Linked DNA regions of Homo sapiens: regions 2, 3 and 4 are each linked to region 1. The links are contacts of gene promoters, found by promoter capture Hi-C in blood cells and fetal thymus (Javierre and others, 2016). All regions are on one chromosome and are shown on one strand. Each heading gives the region's core, a stretch centred on a gene start or on the middle of the fragment in contact. The rest is flanking DNA. Distances are from core to core; before and after follow the strand shown.

The links. The method cuts DNA at HindIII sites, captures the fragments that hold promoters and counts their contacts. A CHiCAGO score of 5 or more calls a contact.
Region 2: a contact is called between the fragment with the promoter of SDC2 here and the fragment with the promoter of TSPYL5 in region 1, in 2 of 17 cell types (neutrophils and M0 macrophages). The highest score is 7.0, in neutrophils.
Region 3: the fragment with the promoter of RPL30 here is called in contact with the fragment with the promoter of TSPYL5 in region 1 in 1 of 17 cell types (fetal thymus); the score reaches 5.7 in fetal thymus.
Region 4: a fragment that was not itself captured here is called in contact with the fragment with the promoter of TSPYL5 in region 1 in 1 of 17 cell types (naive B cells); the score reaches 5.3 in naive B cells.

Annotation. Positions count from the first base shown.
Region 1 is chr8:97,276,153-97,279,396 of GRCh38, reverse strand. TSPYL5 (TSPY like 5) reads left to right here and starts at 1,469. Exons shown (of 1, transcript NM_033512.3): 1 at 1,469-3,244. The coding sequence starts at 1,553. The coding sequence ends at 2,806. All of the region lies in intron 2 of LOC101927066 (a long non-coding RNA gene), which reads left to right. RefSeq lists an enhancer at 1,931-2,432. The HindIII fragment of the contact is 4,352 bases long and covers 152-3,244 here.
Region 2 is chr8:96,492,203-96,495,446 of GRCh38, reverse strand. SDC2 (syndecan 2) reads right to left here and starts at 1,634. Exons shown (of 5, transcript NM_002998.4): 1 at 1,116-1,634. The coding sequence starts at 1,175. The HindIII fragment of the contact is 13,490 bases long and covers 1-3,244 here.
Region 3 is chr8:98,043,940-98,047,183 of GRCh38, reverse strand. It overlaps RPL30 (ribosomal protein L30), which reads left to right and starts at 1,639. Exons shown (of 5, transcript NM_000989.4): 1 at 1,639-1,676; 2 at 1,785-1,837; 3 at 2,096-2,241. The coding sequence starts at 1,817. RefSeq lists enhancers at 1,258-1,307, 1,328-1,387, 555-1,491, 1,558-1,707. The HindIII fragment of the contact is 12,210 bases long and covers 1,130-3,244 here.
Region 4 is chr8:96,640,765-96,644,008 of GRCh38, reverse strand. No RefSeq gene overlaps it. Among named protein-coding and RNA genes, the nearest start is that of CPQ, 2.9 kb to the left of the region's middle. The HindIII fragment of the contact is 1,849 bases long and covers 613-2,461 here.

The DNA of each region.
Region 1 (3,244 bases), core at 220-2,719:
AAAATAGGGCCATCTGTATAAAAATAATTCCTCTTTAAATTGTTTCCTTAAACTTAGGGGTGTATACAAATCACCCAGGATCTTGTTAAAATTCAAATTCTGACTTAGTAGGTCTGGGGAAAGGCCTGAGATTCTGCATCTTTAACAAGCTTTCAGGTGATATCAGGCTGCTGGTCCACAACCACACTTTGAGTAATGAGGTCCCGGGGCTTTTGGGCTTATCTCTCCACTAGCTGGTTACAAGGGCCTTTTTGTTCCCTTTGAGCCTGAAAAGACCACCTCAAAAGGTTTTTCTTTATATTTTTACATTAGCCACAGGTCCCCTCACTGTTCATGGTCCTATTACCTCACTAGTAAGAGCGTGGTCCAGGGCTGCCTCCGGGACTGTGGGGGAGGTTGTCCGGCTGTTTCCATGCACAGTGTAAGAAGTTTCTAGGGCTTCTGCAGTGCCACGTGGAGGCTCTGCTTCTGAACCTCAATCTGCTCCCTGAATAATAATTTCACCTCTCACCACATTCTTGTCTTACTCCAATTACAGGAGCTCTAATACAGGTCTTCACTTCTGGTCCTATACCTAGAGTGATAGTCCAGATCTGTAAACTGAGGCAGCTGGGGGACTCGGGTGATGTTCCCAGGCAGAAGAGGTGGTCAGGTGGTCCACGGAAGCCTGTTTGTTAAGGAGCAAGGCTGATTTCTTAAGAGCCAGCCCAGTAATTGACAGTGGAACAAGTCTGGAAGGACTTGCCATTTCCAAATATAAGGCATAGGATACGGAGTCCCATGGGCTTGAGTTTGAATTGTGCTTCCATCCCTTACTGTGTAACCTGGGGAATGTGCCCGGGTGTCTCTGAGATGCAGTTTTCTTATCTCGAAAATGGGAATGATATCAACACCTCCTTTGTAAATTGAGATAATGCATTTAAAGCACCTAGTAAAGTGCCTGGCACAAATGATACAAAATACTAGTTGCCATTATTTTTATAATTTCTACTATCATCTTACTGCGTACCAAATCGCTTTGACGCCCGGCATTATAGCATCCACCTTTACGTTCTCTGGAGTTAAGGTACCAGAGCAAATCCCTCAGCAAAGGTGTTCAAAGAGAGACACACACGCCCGAGCACTTTCTTCATGACAGATGCCACAAGAGATAACTGGAGGAGCTGAAGATGTTTAGTTTAGAAAACAGGTGATGGGGGACAGGTGGTGATGGCTCTTAGCGTTGCCTTGTTCAACGAGACCCTGAGAGCACGATGAGCCCGCGCGGAAGAGATGAAATGGCAGCACCCCCGCGAGCGCATATCAGAGAAACTCGCCGAGACCTAAAGCGAGTCCGCGCGAGATGGGGGTGGGAGCGCCCGCGGGGGTCGTCTCCTGCGCAGCCGCAGCGGCGGCGCCAATCACCGGGCGCATCACGTCCTCTCGCGACGGTACAGTTGTACGTTCGTGACGTCGGCGGTTGCCGTGGAGAGACCCGCTCGGTCCCGACCGAGAGCTGGCGTCAGGAGCCGCAGGGTCACAGCGTGTCTTTGAAGCTGCCTCCGCCGCCACCATGAGCGGCCGAAGTCGGGGTCGAAAGTCCTCCCGCGCCAAAAACCGGGGCAAAGGCCGCGCCAAAGCCCGAGTCCGCCCTGCTCCGGACGACGCCCCGCGCGACCCGGACCCTTCACAGTACCAGAGTCTCGGGGAAGACACCCAGGCGGCACAGGTGCAGGCTGGCGCGGGGTGGGGTGGCCTGGAAGCCGCTGCGTCCGCGCAGCTCCTCCGGCTCGGGGAGGAGGCCGCCTGCCGGCTCCCCCTGGACTGTGGCCTCGCGCTGCGGGCCCGAGCTGCGGGGGACCACGGGCAGGCCGCGGCCAGGCCCGGCCCGGGGAAGGCCGCATCTCTCTCGGAGCGCCTGGCCGCAGACACTGTCTTCGTGGGAACAGCGGGAACCGTGGGAAGGCCGAAAAATGCCCCCCGCGTTGGAAACCGGCGTGGCCCTGCCGGGAAGAAGGCCCCAGAAACCTGTAGCACCGCGGGGAGGGGGCCTCAGGTCATAGCTGGTGGGAGGCAGAAGAAAGGGGCGGCAGGGGAGAATACCTCGGTGTCAGCTGGGGAGGAAAAGAAGGAAGAGAGGGATGCAGGGTCGGGGCCCCCAGCGACGGAAGGCAGCATGGATACGCTGGAGAACGTGCAGCTGAAGCTGGAGAACATGAACGCCCAGGCGGACAGGGCCTACCTTCGGCTCTCCAGGAAGTTTGGGCAGTTGCGACTGCAGCACTTGGAGCGCAGGAACCACCTCATCCAAAATATCCCGGGCTTCTGGGGGCAAGCATTTCAGAACCATCCCCAGCTAGCATCCTTTCTGAATAGCCAAGAGAAAGAGGTACTGAGCTACTTAAACAGCTTGGAAGTGGAAGAGCTCGGCCTTGCCAGATTGGGCTACAAAATCAAGTTCTACTTCGATCGCAACCCGTATTTCCAAAATAAGGTGCTCATCAAGGAATATGGGTGTGGTCCTTCTGGCCAGGTGGTGTCTCGTTCTACTCCAATCCAGTGGCTCCCAGGGCATGATCTCCAGTCCCTAAGCCAGGGAAACCCAGAAAACAACCGTAGTTTCTTTGGGTGGTTTTCAAACCACAGCTCCATTGAGTCTGACAAGATTGTGGAGATAATCAACGAAGAATTGTGGCCCAATCCCTTGCAGTTCTACCTTTTGAGTGAAGGGGCTCGTGTAGAGAAAGGAAAGGAAAAAGAAGGCAGGCAAGGTCCAGGAAAGCAGCCAATGGAGACTACTCAGCCTGGGGTGAGCCAATCCAACTGATCCTGCACAAGTCTCCCTGCTACCTCCTGCTGGGCTGCTCCTGGTTGACTACATATTTGGCTCTCTGCCTTCTCTTCATGTTGGCCTCTGTGTACTATAGACCCTTTGGACTTTAGTTACAAGAATATGGCATTTATGATCATGTTCTTTTGCCTCCCATAGCCTCTTGCTTTTCTACGTTAGTGTCACATGTTATGTGATCGCACCCGGACTGTTCATATGTTAAGCACACATACTTTAGATGTGTGCTCCCTGTTATCTACATTGCCTGGACCTTGTTCTTGGCTCTGGCCTTTCCTACTTGTCTTTAACATGGACACTCATGAGTCATCCTCCAGGACGACCAGTGCATCCTCAAGCTCTGCTCCTTCAGGGCCAGTGACTTGCTGGGCTTCGTGTTCATGCTGGCCATGCATGTCATCTATGCAAGCGTTTCCA
Region 2 (3,244 bases), core at 385-2,884, 780 kb after region 1:
CTCCTGGCGCCCAGGTGGAGGCAGCTGCGGACGAGAGGAGGCCAAGGAGGCAGTTCCCTTTAGAGGGCGCTCATTGGGCGACGTGGGGAAACAAGCTCCAGCCCCCGAAGCGCGACCAAAAGGAGAAATCAAGTTCCCACCGCCAGGGCGGGGGAGGGAAGCTGGGTGCCGGCAGGCGCTCCGCCGGAGACGAGACTCCTCCCGGCCCCAGAAGCGCCCCGCCAGGGCCAGAGAGGGCGAGCGTGGCGGGAGGGAAGCCTCTGTCCCCCAGCGGCCAGGCGACCCGAAGCCGAGCGCCGTGTCACACGTACCCCGCCTCGCCCTGCTTGCGGCACTCCCGTGTAACTCCTATGAAAATGTCCTCCCGTCCCTGACGCCCCGCGGTGCAACCTCCACCCCTCAACGAGGAGGGGGTCGCCGCAGGACTGGGAATCCAGTGGCCGGCGTCCCAGCATTTTCGGACGCGTTCCGTGCCTCCCCCAGTATCCCCTTGAGGGATCGCCTACTGCGATTCCACGTAGTGTCGGTTACCTCGCCCTAGCCGCAGGGAGCATCAAACAAAAGAACTTTTGCAAACTTTTCTCTCTGGACACTCGCGGGTCTCTTAAATCTGGCCCCCATCTCCCCAGAACTTGCATGCAGTCAAACAGGAAAGCTGGCGCGGGGGGGATGGTGTGCGGAGGAAGGGACCCCGAAGTTTCCAGGTCATCCCTGGTCTCGAGGAGCGCGCGGAGTGGAGCCGTTCCCTCGCGGGCCCGACCCAGGCTCCCCCCTCCTGCCACCCTTTCCCCTCCGTCCTTCCCAGACCACGCAGCAAGACCCGCCGAGGGCGAAGAAGTTGGGAGTGACTTCAGGGGCCTCTGCGGCTAGACCAAACCGCAATTCTCGGTGCCCCCATTCCCGCGGACCGCGGGGTAACGCCAGCGAGCAGCGCTTTTCTGAGGAAGGGAAGAGGGGGAAAGGGTGACCGGACGAGCGCATTTGTCCCAGCGGATCTCCGGTGTATACTTGGGGACTGGGGGTTCCCCAGGTGGCGCTCCCCTATTCCCTGCGGGCTCCTCTCGTAGCTTCAAACACCCTAAACGGCGCGCGCATCCTCCGCCTGGCCCACTCACCGACTCCGCCGACACGCAGGCCACCAAGCCCAAGGTGAGCAGGATCCACGCGCGCCGCATATTCCCCAGGGACCGGCTGCTCCCAGCCGCTGCTTGCAACCAGGGCAAAACGAAGCCTCCTGCCCAGCGCTCGGCGCAGCCCGCGCACACGAATCCGGAGCAGAGTACCGCAGCGATTGCGGCTCAGGCTCGGGGACTCGGGCTCGGGGCTCGGGGGCGCTCGCTTCCTCCTCCTGCGCCTGCTCCCGCCGCCCGCAGCTGCGCCCCGGGAACGCGGCGCCCTCTCACTTGTTGGTTTCTGCACTCCCGACACGGAGTTGGTGCTCCGGGAAGGCTGCTCTCTGAAGCTCTTCTTGCTCTGCTGTGGTTTTGCTCCTCCGCGGACTCCTTTCCCGTGCCGAGGTTCAGTTTCTGGTTTTAAGGAATAAATTCGCTGGCTTGAAAGGGAGCTACGGCAGAAGTTTAGGGGCAGAGCGGCGGGAGCGCGCGATCCGCGCGGCTGGAGCTCCGGGGGTATCTGGAGAGCAGCGCGTCCAAGCGGGGCCACTGGCTCCGCGGCTGCGCCCCTCCTCCTCCCGCGCCGCGCCTCCCTCCCCGGGTCCTCCTCCTTCTCCTCCTCTTCTTTTCCTCTGGCTCCCTCCCTCCTGAGCCTGCTTCTCCGGGCTCCCCTGGGCGACTGGGGAGAGGAGGCGGCAGTGTGACTCCCAGATAAACCCGGGAGAAATTCCTACAGGATTACACGCCGATTGGCAGCTCCGAGGACCAGTGGGCGCCGCGGCTCCGCGCTGTGGCTGCGCCGGCTCTGCTCACCGGCAAGCCAGGGCTCCTGCGTTTTCTCAGTCCTTTTCTTCCTTTCTCTCCCCACTTTTCCTCTCTCCTCTATGCTCTTTTCTTCCCCGTTGTCTTTTCTCTTTCCCTTCTTCACTTTCCCTTTTCTAGAGAACAATTAGTGAAGAAACGAGAGACGTATGTAGCTTTTCTGCCTTGAGAATTCGACCAGTAGAAAGAAACTGCTTTGTGAGTTGAGGGAAAAAAAAAGTGTAAGATGCTTTCAAGCAATGTGAAGTGTTCATAAATCGCCAGTTCATGAAAATTGCATTTTAAAAGAGAAGATAATTAATGTAATAAATATATAGTGAGAGTGTTTCCCATTCTCCCAAATCCTTCCGCACCCCCAAAAAAGGGACATGGAGGAAGGATCCTGTAAACCCAAAGTGCAACAGTTTGAAAGCTCCTAACTTCATTAAGGGCTTAAATACCATTTCTCCCTCACACACAGTTTATGCCACTAAGGCTTTTTATAGGCTCCATTTTAGCAGATAGGTGTTAACGTTTGGAAGCTACAAATAGGGTAATTTGATGAGAAGTTGGATAGAGACCCTGAATAATAACAGATTTAAGATAACTTCAAAGAAAAGAGGGATAAAGTAATTCTTAGTTTGAAGAAAATAATGAACATGTATTTCCTAAATGGAAGTAGCTGACATGAAATATTTTGTTACAATGTCTGTGGCATATTATAGAACATGGCAAATGCGTATTCCCTTCCAGTTTCTTTTTCTTACTGTCACAAATTTTACACACAAATCCCTTGCAGTTCGTGCCATCATTTTTCTCTCTGACTTATAGAGTAAATGAATTATGACGCCATTCTGCTCCTGGAATGCCCACTACAGGAAACCAGAGACTTTTCTGTCTGTTCACCATTGTATTCTCATTCCTGGTACATAAAGACACATGATAAATATTATCTTGAATAAATTTTGCTCTAAAGCTCAATTTATACCGTATAAGAGTTGTGAGCCTTTAAAATACACCAATGTAGATATATAGATATGAGGCCATGGTAATTTTTCAACTCAGTATTAGAATAAAATACAGTCATACCCTCAGTGAGAATTAAATGTCTTAGTAACCTATTACTGTAATAAATCTCAAAGAAAGAAATTTAACTGGAGAATTACAACTCAAACTTGGAGACACTTATTCCTTTGGTTTTGTGTGCCAGCTACCAAACCTACAAATGCTCATGAGCAAGTCTAAGGCATTGGCCAACAAAAAGGTAATATGGAGAAATAGAAGAGTAGGCAAAGGAGAAAGAAGAAAAAGAGCAATAGGCCAGAAGTTGT
Region 3 (3,244 bases), core at 390-2,889, 770 kb before region 1:
CATGTTGGCCAAGATGGTCTCGATCTTTTGACCTCGTGATCCTCCCGCCTCGGCCTCCCAAAGTGTTGGGATTACAGGCGTGAGCCACCGCGCCCGGCCTTATTACTTTTTTTGAGAGGGAGTCTCGCTTTGTCGCCCAGGCTGGAGTGCAGTGGCCCGATCTCAGCTCACTGCTACCTTTGCCTCCCAGGTTCAAGCGATTCTCCTGCTTCAGCCTCCCAAGTAGTTGGGATTGCAGGCAGGAGCCACCACACCTGGCTACTTTTTGTATTTTTAGTAGAGGTGGGGTTTCACCATGTTGACCAGACTGGTCTCGAACTCCTGACTTCAGGTGATCCGCTCACCTCGGACTTCCAAAATGTTTGGATTACAGGCGTGAGTCACCGCATTCGGCCTGAATCAACTTTAATTGTGAAGAGACCTAAGTTACCTGGGCTCTGGTCCTAGCTCTGACAATAGGCCTAGATATGTAAAATGGACAATAAAAAGGTTACTATCTCATGGGACTTTTGTGAGTATTAAATAAATATATGTAAATGATTCCTGGTACAGCACGCGTTTTTTGGTGAGGCTTAATTAAGGAGGGGAAGAGGTTTCCCTCATATAGCTTATCCACTGGTCTGATTGATTAGGTGGGGATTTTCAGCGCCTAATATCTTCAGTGGTCTGTCTCTGGACATTTATACCAAGATCCAACGTTAACAGCAAAAATACTTTTAAAAAATTAGACCTGTTTATCGCGCTCTCAGTGCAAACTCGGCTCACAAGTTCACGCTAACACAGTCACAAAAGGCGAGTTTTGGGAAACTCGAGCAGGGCGCCACCGTTCTCCAGGGGACAGGTAACTTGGGTGACCGCAGGGGTGAGGACACAGCTGCTTCTACCAAGCGGAGAGTAAATGCGGGTGCTGCGGCGCATCGGAGTCACCCACAAGGCTCTCCAAGAGCCGCGCCTCAGGACAAAGATGAATTCAGCGGCATTGAGACCGTGGTCGCAGCCGCCGCAGCCTCTTCTCATCTACCCTCCCACCTCACCTTCAGTCGGCTTTTCGAACTCCCTCCGGGTTCTAAGCGCCTCGATTAGTTAGACCGCAGCTCGCAGCAGAACAGCAACACAACGCCGCGAAGCTTAAAGGCCCGCAGAGGGGGAAAAGAACACCCCCGCCGTCATTCTTTTTTTTCCTTCTTTGAGACAGAGTCTCACTCTGTCGCCCAGGCTGAGTGCAGTGGCGCGATCATGGCTCACTGCAGCCTCGACCTACCGAGCTCAAGCGACCTCTCCGCCTCAGCCTCCGGCGTAGCTGGGAGTAGCTAGGACTACTGGAGCGCGCCACCACGCCCGGCTAATTTCTTTTTTATTTCTTTTTTATTTTTTTGTAGAGACAGGGGTGGTCTATGTTGTCCAGGCTGGCCTTGAGCTGGACGCAACAGATCTTCCCGCCTCAACCTCCGAAAGTGCTGGGATTAAAGGTATGAGCAGCCGCGTACGGCCCCCGCAGCCATTCTAGCTAGCGGTACCAATAGCAACCGGCAGCTGCCCTCCGCTTTTGCTCCGCCCCTTCTGCTTGCGATCTGTTTCCGCTTCCGGTCCCGCAGTTCCGGCTCTGCCGTGAAGAGCTTTGCATTGTGGGAAGTCTTTCCTTTCTCGTTCCCCGGCCATCTTAGCGGCTGCTGTTGGTGAGTGGGCTCCTACCGACCGAGGTTTAGGCAGCGCGGGGAGCTTTGCGGGTTGCCATTTGTAACTCCGGATCCTAAAATTCCTGTCCTGTTCTCTGTCTCTTCTAGGTTGGGGGCCGTCCCGCTCCTAAGGCAGGAAGATGGTGGCCGCAAAGAAGACGGTGAGTGAGGCGGGCCAGGCCCGGAAGACGATTCACGTGGAGAGATGTCTTGGCCAGGGCGGGCAGATGTGAGCCCACGGGGGTGACAGCATGCCTGCTGGCATTTGGAGGGCCCCAGAAGGAATCCCAGTGGCCCTCTCAATGACTTGGGGTCCTCGACTTCGGAAGTTTAAGGGGCTCGGCTTCAAAAAGCTGGGTCCGGTTTTGAGGCGGTTGCAGGCGAGGCCCTTAGGTCCGTATTTAATGTTTGCTTTGTAGAAAAAGTCGCTGGAGTCGATCAACTCTAGGCTCCAACTCGTTATGAAAAGTGGGAAGTACGTCCTGGGGTACAAGCAGACTCTGAAGATGATCAGACAAGGCAAAGCGAAATTGGTCATTCTCGCTAACAACTGCCCAGCTTTGAGGTAATCGAAGAGACTGAACGGGCTTCGCCTACCGCGAATTCATCGTGAACGAATATACAGGAGTGTAAACTTGTAATCTGAGTACCATGAACTCGAACACTTGCAGGATAATTACGGTAGCGATTGTGGTGTTTGGCCCTTCATTCCCGTCTCCCCGACCCACCCCCAAATCGTGTGCTCCCCTTCTGTGAGCTTATTTTTGGAGGAGAAATGTGTGTGTGTGGCAGGAGTGAAAACAGAACATCGAGGTTTAATGGAAACACAGACACATTACTGTTTTTTCCATGTATTTTGTGTCCTGCTTTTTTGGTTCTTTTAGCTTTGAGGTGCTTTAATGATGCTTCATTGTGTGAACTTGTTTTAGTGTCAAAAAACTAGGTAAGAAAAGTTGAGGCTGGGCTATGGAGTTGCAGGCTATCATAGAATCACCTAGTTTAGCCCGCTAAATCAGTTCTGAGTCAAGATTTATGCTTGACTCACTGTTTTGAAATTGAACTTAGGGGGTGTTGTAAATAAGCCAAACAAACTTGGACCTTGCAGAGTATAAGCTATGTGAGCAAATTTTCTGTGGTGATGCATAAGCTGCTTACAGCATTTTATATAGGGTGTCTGTAGTTACCGTCAAAGCCTGGAGGGCCCTTTCTGTCTTGTCCCATGGGTTCGGCTTTTCCCTAACCATTCTTTGAAACTTTCTTTAAAGCCTGTCTTCTATAGTAGTGCTTCTGAAACATGACTGTGCAAAGGAGTCACATGGGTGATGTTAAAATGCAAGTTCTGATTTCATTGGATCTGGGATGGGGCCCGAGGTGCCATTTATTATTTTATTTTTTTTAAGACAGAGTTTTGCTCTTGTCACCCCGGCTGGAGTGCAATGGCACAATCTAAGCTCACTGCAACCTCTGCCTCCCAGGTTCAAGCAATTCTGCCTCACCCTCCCGAGTAGATGGGATTACAGGCACCTGCCACCATGCCTGGCTAATTTTTGTATTTTTAGTAGAGATGG
Region 4 (3,244 bases), core at 288-2,787, 640 kb after region 1:
TATAAAATTAGTTTTTCAATTATTGGTTGTTGTTGTTGTTTTTATTTCTAAATGCTTACTCACAATTTCTATACTTACCTGTTCATGGAGCAGTAAAAAGCTGTTCACTGACTGGCGGTGGTTGGATTACCGTTTAAGTGGCACTGACTTGCTGTTCTTTAATTATGTCAAATGCTTTTCAACTTCTGGGCCTTTTCTCATGTTTAATGTGAACGAAGTTCTTTCCCACTCAAGTTTCAACTCGTAATAACAATAAAAGCTTCACATTTATTGAGTGCCTTGTGCTAAGATTTTTGATGCATTAACTGTGAATTCTTATTTGTCCTATGAGCTACCTATTATTATCATTATTATTTCCCCCCACTGTACAGATAAGGAGATGGAGGATTAGAGAGGTCAAGTCACAAAACCAGTGAGGTACAAAGTCAGCATTAAACTGAGCTGGCCTGATTCTGGAGCCCAAGCAATCAACCAACATGCTGGGCCCCTCTCTGTGAAACCTCCCCCATTTGCTTTCAAGTTGAAATTAATCACTCTTGCTTACACCTCTACTCTAACATTTTTTCCCGTTGGTTTTCATTCATGTCAGCTTCCCACGCTAGGCTTTAAGCTTCTGAGTACAGTGAATTTGTCTGCTCACACTAATCACAGGAAGCAGAGCTCATTCGCATCTTTGCATTACCACTATCTTTTATGCTTACTTCATGATATGTTTTAATTATTTATTCTTGTCAGCATCCTCTACTAAACCATACAATGTTCAGAGTTATCTTACCAAAGATGCTTTTATTTATTTAATTGAATAAGCATTTCTATAGCATGTATAATGAGCCAGGTACTATTCCAAGAATTTTAAAACCTCGCAAATAGACCTATAGATATTATTTTATCCCTCTTTAAACTGTGAGGAAACTAAGGCATAGAGAGGTTGCAGTAAGTTGCAGGACCAGAATTCCAAACCAAGCAACCTGCCTGGCTCCAGAATCTATTTCTGAGCCACCATGCTATGTTGATTTTCCACAATACCATGTGTTCTTCCTACTTAGAACACTTCACTGCAGGGAGATCAATCCATAATGGCCAATTAGAAGCCCCTGCCCGCAGCACTCAGGGAGGAATGAGAAGGGGCAAGTGAATTCAGTACCTTCAACTGAAATATCCAGGTTCTCTCATTGGGACTGACTAGGCAAACCACCGGCCCATGGAGAATGAAGAAAAGTTGGGCAGGGTGGGGAGCCCACCTCGGAGCAGCACAGAGCCAAAGGAACCTCCACCCTCAGCCAAGGGAAGTGGTGAGTGATTGTGCAACCCAGGAAACCATGCTTCTCCCATGAATCTTTGCAACCTGTGGATCAAGAGACCCCCTCATGACTCCACACCACCAGGGCCTTGAGTCTGATACACAGAGCTGTGTGTTGTCTTGACAGAGCAGCCACTCAGGCACATACAAAGAGGCCCAGAAGTTTTACATACTCTGGCCACAATCATCAGCAAGGCAGGAAATCCATCTGTAGGAAGGGGGCTGAATCCAGGGAGCCAAGCAATACCATTCTTCAGGCCCCACTTACATGACACCCCACAAGTTAAGACCCACCAGCTTGGAATCCCAGCCAGCCAATGGCAGTGGATAGGAGTCTGCCTGAGACAGGTTTGAGTTCCCAGCAGGTGGGGCAGCTGCCGTCTCTGTGATTCAGCCGACTCAGCTGCTGCAGCCTCCTGGATGTGGAGAATACAGACGGTCTAAACTAGGAAGGGTTCCCTCTGCTACAATGCAGCACACCTGCCCTACCAAAAAGCAGCCAGACTGCTTCTGTAAGCGGGACCCCAAGTCATTCCTCCTCGCTAGAGAGGACCTCCTTAAGCCCCTCCAGCAACTGTTTTATGAACAGAGCTCTGATCTCTCCCTGGGACAGAGCTCCTGGAGGGAGGGGAGGCCATCATCTCTGCAGTTCAGTAGACTCAGCCATTCAAGCCTGCCAGCTGTGGATAATACAGATGGACCATACAAGGAAGGGTCCCCCACAATGTAGCACAGCTGCCTTGCCAAATTGCAGCCAGACTGCTTCTTTAAGTGGGACCCCAATCCATTCCTCCTCATGGGTGGGTCCTCCCTGCAGGAGCTTCAGTCACTCCAGCCAGGGCGCTATGGAGAGAGCTCTGATATCTCCCTGGGACAGGTTGCCTTGGAGAGGGACAACCACCATCTTTATGGTTCAGTGGACTCAGCTGATCCAGCCTACCAGCTGTGGAGAATACAGGTGGTCCAGACTATGAGGGCCCCACCCACCCCCACTCCCAGTACAGCACACCTGCTCTACAAAAAGCAGCCAGACTACTTCTTTGGGTGGGTCCCTAATCCCGTTCCTCCTGACTGGGTGAAACCTCCCAATGGGGGTCTCTAACCACCTGCTGCAGGTGTATGAGGGCTGGCAACAGATCAGAAACCACCCAAGATGAAGCTTCCAGAGGAAGAAGCTGGCTGCCATCTTTGCTGTTTTGTGGCCTTCACTAGTGATACCTCCAGATACAGGAAAAAGTGAGGCAACTGGGGTCTGGAGCGGATCTCCAGCAAACTGCAGCAGTCAAGTGGCCTGACTGTTAAGAGAAAAACAAACAAAACAACAACAACACCATCAACAAAAAAGACCCCACAAAAACCTCATTCAAAGTCAACAACCTCAAAGATTAAAGGTAGATAAGCCCACAAAGATGAGAAAGAATCAACGCAAAAATGCTGAAAACCCAAAAAGCCAGAGTGCGTTTTCTCCTGCAAATGACCACAACCCCTCCCCAGCAAGGGCACAGAACTGGACTGAGGCTGAGATGGCTGAACTGACAGAAGTATGCTTCAGAAGGTGGGTAACAACGAACTTTCCTGAGCTAAAGAAGCATGTTGTAACCCAATGCAAAGAAGCTAAGAAACATAATAAAACAATACTGGAGCTGATAGCCAGATAACAAGAATAGGTGAGAAAGGAATATAACTGACCTGATGGAGCTGAAAAACACAACACAAGAGCTTCACAATGCAATCACAAGTATCAATAGCAGAATAGACCAAGTGGCGGAAAGAATCTCAGAGCTTGAAGACTATCTTTCTGAAATAAGACCAGCAGACAAGAATAGAGCAAAAAAGAATAAAAAAGAATGAACAAAACATCCAAGAATATGGGATTATGTAAAAAGACAACCTACAACTGATTGGGGTACCTGAAAGAGACAAAGAGGATGAAACCAAGTTGAA